Regions from separate parts of the Homo sapiens genome. Here regions 2 and 3 are each linked to region 1. The links are contacts of gene promoters, found by promoter capture Hi-C in blood cells and fetal thymus (Javierre and others, 2016). All regions are on one chromosome and are shown on one strand. The core of a region is centred on a gene start or on the middle of the fragment in contact, and the rest is flanking DNA. Distances in the headings are between cores, read along the strand shown.

Evidence for each region. The method cuts DNA at HindIII sites, captures the fragments that hold promoters and counts their contacts. A CHiCAGO score of 5 or more calls a contact.
Region 2: a contact is called between the fragment with the promoter of SUSD6 here and a fragment that was not itself captured in region 1, in 1 of 17 cell types (fetal thymus). The highest score is 8.1, in fetal thymus.
Region 3: a contact is called between the fragment with the promoter of EXD2 here and a fragment that was not itself captured in region 1, in 2 of 17 cell types (naive CD8 T cells and total CD4 T cells). The highest score is 6.4, in naive CD8 T cells.

What each region holds. Positions count from the first base shown.
Region 1 is chr14:67,811,007-67,813,980 of GRCh38, forward strand. All of the region lies in intron 3 of ZFYVE26 (zinc finger FYVE-type containing 26), which reads right to left. Among named protein-coding and RNA genes, the nearest start is that of ZFYVE26, 4.1 kb to the right of the region's middle. The HindIII fragment of the contact is 198 bases long and covers 1,411-1,608 here.
Region 2 is chr14:69,610,121-69,613,094 of GRCh38, forward strand. It overlaps SUSD6 (sushi domain containing 6), which reads left to right and starts at 1,476. Exons shown (of 6, transcript NM_014734.4): 1 at 1,476-1,708. RefSeq lists a silencer at 1,225-1,994. The HindIII fragment of the contact is 10,737 bases long and covers 1-2,974 here.
Region 3 is chr14:69,190,023-69,192,996 of GRCh38, forward strand. It overlaps EXD2 (exonuclease 3'-5' domain containing 2), which reads left to right and starts at 1,476. Exons shown (of 10, transcript NM_001193360.2): 1 at 1,476-1,569. The region is part of intron 3 of GALNT16-AS1 (GALNT16 and EXD2 antisense RNA 1); the gene reads right to left. RefSeq lists a silencer at 1,697-1,886. The HindIII fragment of the contact is 2,229 bases long and covers 1-2,200 here.

The sequences.
Region 1 (2,974 bases), core at 260-2,759:
GTCCAAAATCTTATTTCTTCTAACCATGTACTTCCCTAATATGTGCATCAAGGCCATGTGAATGCTTGTATAATGCCTGTGATTGGAAGCTGGTGGATAAAATTCATGCTGGGAAGCTGAGGATTAGTGCTTCTATTGAAGACTAACAGAAAAGAATAGATAAGATGTCTAGGACAGCAGATCCTTAATAGCCTGGCTAAGATTTTATTTAGAATCCTAAAGACTGAGTAGATTATACTTATTTTACTGCTGAAACTACTTTAAACATATTCAGGATCATAATTGACTAACATTTATCTTCCTAAAATAGGCAAGAATTTGCTCAGCATTTCTAAGCAAGGATGTCATGCAAAAGTGGAACCAAAGACAAAATTAATTCTGGTGACCGAGAGGAGCAAAAATTTAAAAAACTGGCAAAATTATAGACATCTTAAAAGTAGAATTTGTGGTTTCTTAGTTTTAAGTCCATCTGGGCTAAAAAAGTAGTGTTAAGGCAGAAAAAGCAGAGGATTGAGGTCAGAAGATTTTGGTTTCAGCAGCAGTTCTGTCAAATAACTTTACGGTTACAAGAGCAAGGCATGTTCAATGTAGAAAAATTGAATATACAAATAAGTAAACTAAAATATGTTATATATATATAAAACATATGTATGTCCAGTTAGTCTTATTTCTGCTATTTCTCTAAGATAAAGTGTTTTATCCTAGAGAGAGATATGTAACATATATGTTATATTTTAGTGCAATATAATATATATAACATATGTTAGTTTGCTTATTTGTATATTTAATTTTGTAATTTTACAAATTTAATTGGTGTATTTAGTTACATATGAAATATATAATATATAACATATATGAAATTTATGATATATAACAAATATAAAATATATGATATATAACATGTATTATATATGAAATATATATCACATATGAAATATATTACATATAACATATTATATATGAAATATATATTTTATATATATTCTCACTGAAGGAGAACAATTATGAAAACTGTGGTCTAAGGCCATTCATTCAGACCATTTGCTATGCACATCTCTATGCATGTATACCAAATGTACTTTTTTCTAAACTGCCTTTTTTCCCATACAGCAGACCATGAACACTCTATGTTAGTGAAAACTCATTTGCCAAATACTTTTGAATAGTGGTATAGTATTTTACATATAGATATATTTCCATTTATTAACCTGTCCTATACTATGGACATGGGAGTTGTTTCAGTTTTCTTCTAATAGAAGTAGCATAGACGTGAACATTTCTGCAGCTAAATCTTTGTATAATTGCTTACACATGGAGAGATACATCTCTGCAAGATTAAAAGGCAGAAGGCAAAAATGAATGGAGGAAAGGGAAAATAGAATCACTATTTCATCTAATAATTAAAAGGGAAGCTTTTGGCAAAAGGTGGGAACCTGGAAAAGGACAGGCAGCCAGTAAATTCCTAGATGATGAAGGCACCTTCAGGATAATGACTGGACTTGGAAAACTACCCCAAGAATTCACTGGACGCCATGGTGCTTATATAGTTTTAAAATTCTATGAGGAACTAAAATAGTCCCACAACTGTTTAAATAAGCAAGTCATTGAAGCTTTAAAGACCAAATAATCTATTTGTGAACCTGGGAAAAACAAGAACGGGAAGTGGAATCCATCTCCTGACATAGTTGAGCAACTGTCTAGAAAATAAGCAACCATTCAGATATAAAGTAAGCAAATAGTCTCTACTGAGGGGAAAGTTAATTTGATTTGACAAATTCCATGTTTGTACTAGAGAGATCCCTTAATCAGTAACAATAGTTCTTTTTCTCTTTGAAGATACTATAGTAACTATAGGTTACTATTTTAGTTCAAGTTTTCTCTTTTAAATCTGAAACCATAGCCAACTCTTAATGATGCTGGGTTTCATTATGTTTCAATCTTGTTTTTCTTTCTTCTCGCTCCTACTAGTCTTTCTGTCATTTTTCTTTCCTAAACAACTGGCTAAATCCTGGATAAGAGATACATTCAGATTAGCAATTTCTGTTACTTTTTGACAGCTCTGTGAGGAACGATAAATATCATGCAAAAGTGGAACCAAAGACAAAATTAATTCTGGTGACCGAGAGGAGCAAAAATTTAAAAAACTGGCGAAATTACAGACATTTTAAAAGTAGAATTTGTGGTTTCTTAAAGTCCATCTGGGCTAAAAAAGTAGTGTTAAGGTGGAAAAAGCAGAGGATTGAGGTCAGAAGATCTTGGTTTCAGCACCAGCTCTGTCAAATAACTTTACGGTGTGTCCTTGGGCCAGTCATTTCTAAGTTAGAGGTTCTTCACTTAAATCTCAAAGTCTGAAGTTCAATATGAAAATGTCTCAGAGTAATTCTTTTATAAGATATAAATTTCTGATAATTAACATACTTCTAAAAGGACTTTTAATGGAAGTTTATCTTTAAAAAAGGTAATTCCTTACCAGGTTTTTTTTTTCAATATTAATTTGCTTACTTGTTTTTATATCTGGTAATTTTCTGTTCAATTCATGTGAATTATTAAACTATGAATTAATGGAATTTGAATCTATGAGATGTCATGGAATTAGGCTAGTTAAAATATGATTTTTGGAAGAAAAACCAAGTTTCAGCTCAGCCCATTCTCTATTACTTAAATGTTGAATAGATCCAAATGTTACAGATTCATATTTTATTTGCTATTTTGTTACCTTCACTGAGTTTCCAAAAGTTCTCTTTAGGCACAAGACTCATGGTGGTATTTAACAAACAGTAATATATGCCAATGTATATTAGTGCATTAATGAATGAATTTAGGTAAGGAGACAGCAATAAAAATTTAAGCCATTCTTTGAGAATGAGTATGATGAATTTAATGATAAAGGAAGTAACAGACAGAAGGGAAATCCCACAACTACTTTCAAGTTCTTCTCAGTCCTGGCCTCGGAGGAAAATTTAATATAAACCTA
Region 2 (2,974 bases), core at 226-2,725, 1.8 Mb after region 1:
CATGTTCCTGCTGCCCACACTGATTTGGTTGTGCTCTGAGGCAGACCCAGGTAGTTCTGAATTGTGCTTTTCAATCTTCTAGTGGTCTGGGCAGTGTGGCCCCAAATGAGCAGGAAGGGAGGGGTGCCCATCTTCTCTAATGAGTCTGGACCCAAGAAGGCAAGGAAGAAAGAAGGCAGAACAAGGATAGACTTATGAAAAAGGCATTATAGCAACGAGCCACAGGTTGCTGTGGGGCCCAGAAGGGAAGGGTTCTTTTGGGGATGGGTCTGTGTGCATGGGGAGGAGCATCCTGTTTATTTGGTTCAAGCTACTTCACAAGGACATGCCCTGTTAATTCACAGTGCTTTTCCCGAAAGCCTACTAGAACTAGGCCTGGTGAGAGGCCCTGAGAAGGTGTATCCTTTTGTCCAAGAGCATCTGGGAGAAGAGGCCTGCCTGACCCAAGCTGCAGCAAAGACACAAGTCTGTAGGTCCAGATGTGGACTCTACCACTGATTTACAAGTAGGAGTTCCTTAACACTTATGGAGGACCTCTGAGACCGACACGGTGCAAGGCCCTGGGGTACAAAGATAAAAAGCCAGAGTCCTCCCCATCAAGGCGCCACGGGCCCTGTAAACACATAAACCGAGGACACACTGCATGAGAGATCACCAATAAACGATGTAGCCATACAGTGCACAAACTGCTCACTCAGTATGTGCTAGAAAATAGCCCCAGAAGGCAAGGCTCAAGAGGGGAAATACAGTTAGGAATGTGGCAGGCTTCTAGCCCGGGCTCTGCCAGTCCTGGCTCTGAACTGCGGTTTTCTCAACCTTGAGATCCCTTGTGTGCTTTTAGTATGCTGAAGGATCACTCACTTCAGAATGCTAGTGAAAATACAGATTCCCAAGTCCGACCCCACTGAATCACAATGGCTGGAGGTCATTCGGGGCCCCGAATCTGCATTTTCACCCCCACCCACCCCCCGGGCAGCTTTAATGTTGGCAGGCTAGGAACCACAGTTCGGATTACTGCTTAACAGGGAGATAATAACCTGCTTCAGACGAGCTAGGTCAGACGAGCAATTCAAGAGCTAACAAGGCAACATGCGCCAAAAGCCTTGTAAACCTCAGGGCAGTACAATTCTTTGCAAATAATAGTAATTCAATCATGCAAATAATAATAATAGTAAACGAACTGGAGAGCGCACTGGAAACGCCGCATAGTCCAGCTGAGTCGGTGCCACCGCCCCATCCACTCCAGCGCAGAGGGACTGTCTCTTTAAGGACCCCCCACCTCCCCAACCGCGTCGCTTCTCCCTTGGGTACCTGGCCCGGCCGGCGGCGCGTGCGTGCAGGGCCTCCCGGCGGGGCGGTCGCGGCGGCGCGACGCCGGCGCCGTTGCGTGCGCGCCTGGCCCTGCCCCTTTCCCGCCCCTTCCCCGCCCCCTCCCCTCCGCGGGGCCTCCCCCGCCCGCGCGGTACAGCTGGGTCAGTGACGCGGGCGCTGCAGCCGTCGCTACCGCCGCGTTCTATTCTCCGAAGCCGGCGACCGCCCCACCTCCTCCCTCCCTCCCGCCCGCTTCCTCTGCCCACAGCGCCGGCCAGAGCGAGCTAGACAAGGGCACGCGGGGCCTCGCCTAGACCCGAGAAGACTGCGGGCGCGCGCAAGCGGCGGCGTGGAAGCTGTGAGCGCCCCCATCCCGGAGGTCTCCGCCGGCTCCCGGGTGAGTTGTCACCGCGGCCCGGGGGCGGCGGGGCCGGCATTGTGCCATCGACGCGCTCGGCCGGCTGTCAGGGGCGCGGGACCAGCGCGCACCGCCCAGGAGTGACGCTGGCCGGAGCCCGGGCCGGCTTCGGCGGCTCCCCGCGCTTCTCTGCGCCGGCCCGCTGTCACCCGGCCGCGAGCCGCGCCGCTGGGAGCCCCGCGCTGGCGTGGCGCGGCCAGCCGGCCAGCAGTGGGGGCTGCGCGGCCGGGGGGACCGGCGGCTGGTTTGCGGCCGGGAACTTGGTGACCCGCGGTCCGGGGCGCGCCGTCCCGCGTCGCTGCCCGGGCAGCACCGGAAGAGCCAGACGCCGTGCCGATGGGTGCAGAGGAGGTAGGCAGAGGCCCTCTGTGCCACTGTCATTACTGCCCTCAGCCCAGCAAAGCTGCGGGGCTTGCGCTGGGGCAGGGCTGGCTTAGAGAAGGTGGATTTCCTGAGGAAATCTCAGAGCCCGCCTGTGCGCACCGCGGCATTCGGGAGCCCCCGCGCCTCGGCTGCTCTTTAATCTCAAAAACTTCTCTTATTAACCAGGCTAAACTCCCCGAAACCAGCTATTTTCTTTCAAAAAGTAGGCACGTACATACAGACTTTCCTTTTTTCGCTTGGTTTTGAGACCCCAGCTATGAGTGTGGATCTGACTCTCCCTCATGGGAGTCGTGGCTGGGGAGCTGCTGAAGTGGAGAAAAGTTACCCTGGACGAATTTAGGAGCAGGAGGGGGAGGTGGTTATGGGGACAGCAAGACCCAGGAGCAAAGAGGCGTCAAAATAAAGTCTTGGGCTGGTTAAAGGGAAGTTGGCGTCTGGGCAAGGAGGCCTAAAGCTGTTGTTCCCACAGAATTTTCTTTCAGTGGCAGGCGACATGCTGGGCTTTGTTGCTCTCGCTAACTGGGCTCCTGTGTGCTCTTCCAGAGGTGCAGTAAGATTACTCAGTTCAATTAGGCCTAGGGATTTACTCCCTTTTTTGATCTACAGAGATGGGAAGTATGTCTTTCCTTCACAGTAGTTAATTCATTTCTTGCTGTTTTCGTTCCTCTGGTGTAAAAACATACATAGGAGTTACGCACACACACCTTTTCTGTTTTGGGAATTCCACACCCAAACTGTCACCATCTAGTGGAGGCTAGTAGAGACATGTGCTTGGCACTGACTTCTGAGTTCTCTGGGTTTTGTGTTTTTAGCTAGAAGCATATTCAACCAGAAATTAAAATTTTCCTGGAGTTGGGGGAG
Region 3 (2,974 bases), core at 226-2,725, 1.4 Mb after region 1:
CACACCATGATGCCCAGCACTTTGGGAGGCCGAGGTGGGAGGATCGCTTGAGGCCAGGAGTTCAAGACCAGCCTGGGCAACACAGTGAAAATCCCTAAAGTGCTGGGATGACACGTTGAGCCACTGTGCCCCAGCTAGGGGTGAAATTGTTGGAACAAAGTCTTTTCACATATTCAGATTCAGTTGATACCGCCAAACAGTTAAACAAAGTGATTGCATCAATTTATGTTCCCTTCAGGAGCATATGAGAGTTGTGGTTGCTCCACAATCTTGCCAATACTTGACATTTTCTTTTTCATTTAGCTATATCTCATTGTGGTTTTAATTTGCATTTCCTCTTTATCCTTTGTTTTTTAAGTGTTTCAAGATGGAGCAGATAAAAATTCAGGGAGTTAATCCTCTATAATAGCTGGAAATTTCCCCCATGGGTACTCATTCAATGGAATTTAAAACATTTGCCCCTGTATTGAAGGCAATATAGTATAAAGGATGGGGCCACATGCTCTGCAATCAGAAATATGAGGTTTGATTCCTAACTCCGGTGCTTACTTGCTGAATTACCTTGAGGAAGTTATTTAACCTTTTTCTATTTTATGTAAAACGGCACTAATAATAGTACTGCCTCACAGGGTTGTTATGGGGATTAAAGGAGAAAAAATAAGTAAAATGCTTTGCAAAGTTCCTAGCAACAGGTGAGCACAAAGTCAACAAATGGTAGCTATTATTATACCTTATATTGGTTATTTATGCACATCTCATTTCTCCTTCTGTTTTACACATTCCATGAGAAAGGAAAAGCATGCATGTAGCACAGATTAACTGCCTCACATATAATTGCTAATAAAGACTGATTGGATGAACGATTTAATATATAAACAAAAAGTATTGTGGTTATCGCTATAAAAGATGGCATAGGTTGGGCATTCACGCCTGTAATCCCAGCACTTTGGGAGGCCGAGTTGTGAGGTTCGCTTGAGCCCAGGAGTTCGAGACCAGCCTAGGCAATGTAGGGAGACAGTATCTACAAAAAAAAAAAAAAAAAAAAAAAAGGAGGGTACATAAAATTATTATAGTGGCTATAGGATAATGTGCACTGCTAATGAAGACTACATTATTTAAATACAGTGTCTTTCCTTCTATTTACTGTTATCGTTTAGCAGAAAAACAGTACGCAGGATACTAAAGAAGGAAAATTCGATGTCCCATATTACATTTGTGAGAGTTCTGGAGGTTTCTCCCTTCAAAGCCAAAACCAAAACACAAACATACCATCCCAGTAACAAATGCGTCACTTTTCTGAAGAAGACGTTAAGCCCTTCCAATTTTAACAGATCCTTTGTTCAACAGAGGAGAGAGACTGGGTAGGCATCACCTGCCCCAGTAGCTTCCGTACAAAATGGCGTTGCCCGTTCCCACACGCCAGCTGGGATTACGTCCTCCAGGCCTGTCGCAGGAACGGAAGTGGTTACGGCCCTAGTGAATCCGGGTGGGTGCGCGCAGGCGGCCGCACAGGTTCCAGGTCTTTAACGTGAGCCCGCTGCAGGTGTGCGGCCCAGTCCGAGACAGCAGGTAAGTGAGGCTCAGAAGCCGGCGAAGCCTTGCACCAGGATTGTGCGCGGGGCAGGGGGTGCTTCCAGTGCAGACTAAGAGGGGTCGTGGAGCGGGGGGATATTACCGTGTACGGGGGTGACATTGCGGGGCCCCCGCTGTCCCGGAGCGAGTTGGCCCTGCCCCTCTCCCCGCCCCTCGGCGTGACCCCCTCGCCCCCGTCGCACACGGCGGGGCGGTTCAGCACCCAGGTGCGCAAGGAGGGCCTCACCCCTGCCCGCGGCCTCCCACGCCCTCCTTGGGCCTCTCCTTTCGACCCCCTTACCCTCTCCCTGGGAGACTCTACCAGACCTTCGAGGCTGCGTGTCCCAGTCAGCTAAAAAGGAGGCCCCGCCCGCGGCACCTGGTAGCTCCTCGGGCGCTGCGGGTTCGACGCGGCAACAGCTGCTGTTTTCTCTCCTGGATTCGTGTGAGCCGCCACCCTCGCTACCATCCCTGTCCTCCCAGACCACACCCTGCTCTGGGCCTTGCCGGGAGCCACCTCTTTGGCTTTTCACATCCCTGGGATGGATCAAAACTAAGAACCTTAATCATTATTTATTACAAAATTGACATCTGCTCCTTAAAATACAAACAAACCAATCCCCCGATAAGCTTTTGATATGATTCCAACATTCAAACTCCTTTATATACCCTCTCCTCAAAAACACAAAATTGAAATTATACTTTATTTTCTTAGTTCTGTTCCAAGGATAGAAGGAATTGAAAGGTTTTGTTAATCATAGGAATTAGGAAGTGCGGGTTGGGGCGCAGCGGGGAAGATGGATTAAATTTGGTCAAGTTGAGCTTGTTTTAAAAATGTATTTTTAAAATATTCTAGTTATAGTCCGTGCATAAAGCCTTGTAACAAAATTATGTAAAAATTTTAAACACAGATCTTTCTTAGCTTGATGTTCTTGGTGGTGAGGGTGGGGAGTGTGGAAGACAGATCCTCTTTGATTTTGTTTTTTTCCATCTCCACCTTCTTTACCAGTCCCTTTCCCACAAAATAAGAACTGTTGTCAGTTTGTGTGTATTTTTCTTTGCATTTATTTGACAAGTATGTGTACGTATAAGATATATGTTTGTAAGATTTCGCTTTAAACTTTTACAAATATGCATGTTTTATGCATTACACAACTTGACGTTTTATGCTTAAAAACGGGTCTTGGAATTTTTTCTTTGTCAGTACCTAGAGATCTACCTATTCTTTCTACTTGCTCTGTAAATTCCATGGTTATGTAAGATTCCATAGATTGTTTCCAGTTTTTCATTGTTAGACACAGTATGGCGGAGAACATCCTTCCCACACACCTCTGTGAGAGCCCATGTGAGAGCATTTCTCAAGGATGGGTACCTGCAGGTGGAATTGCTGGGTGGGAGAGTA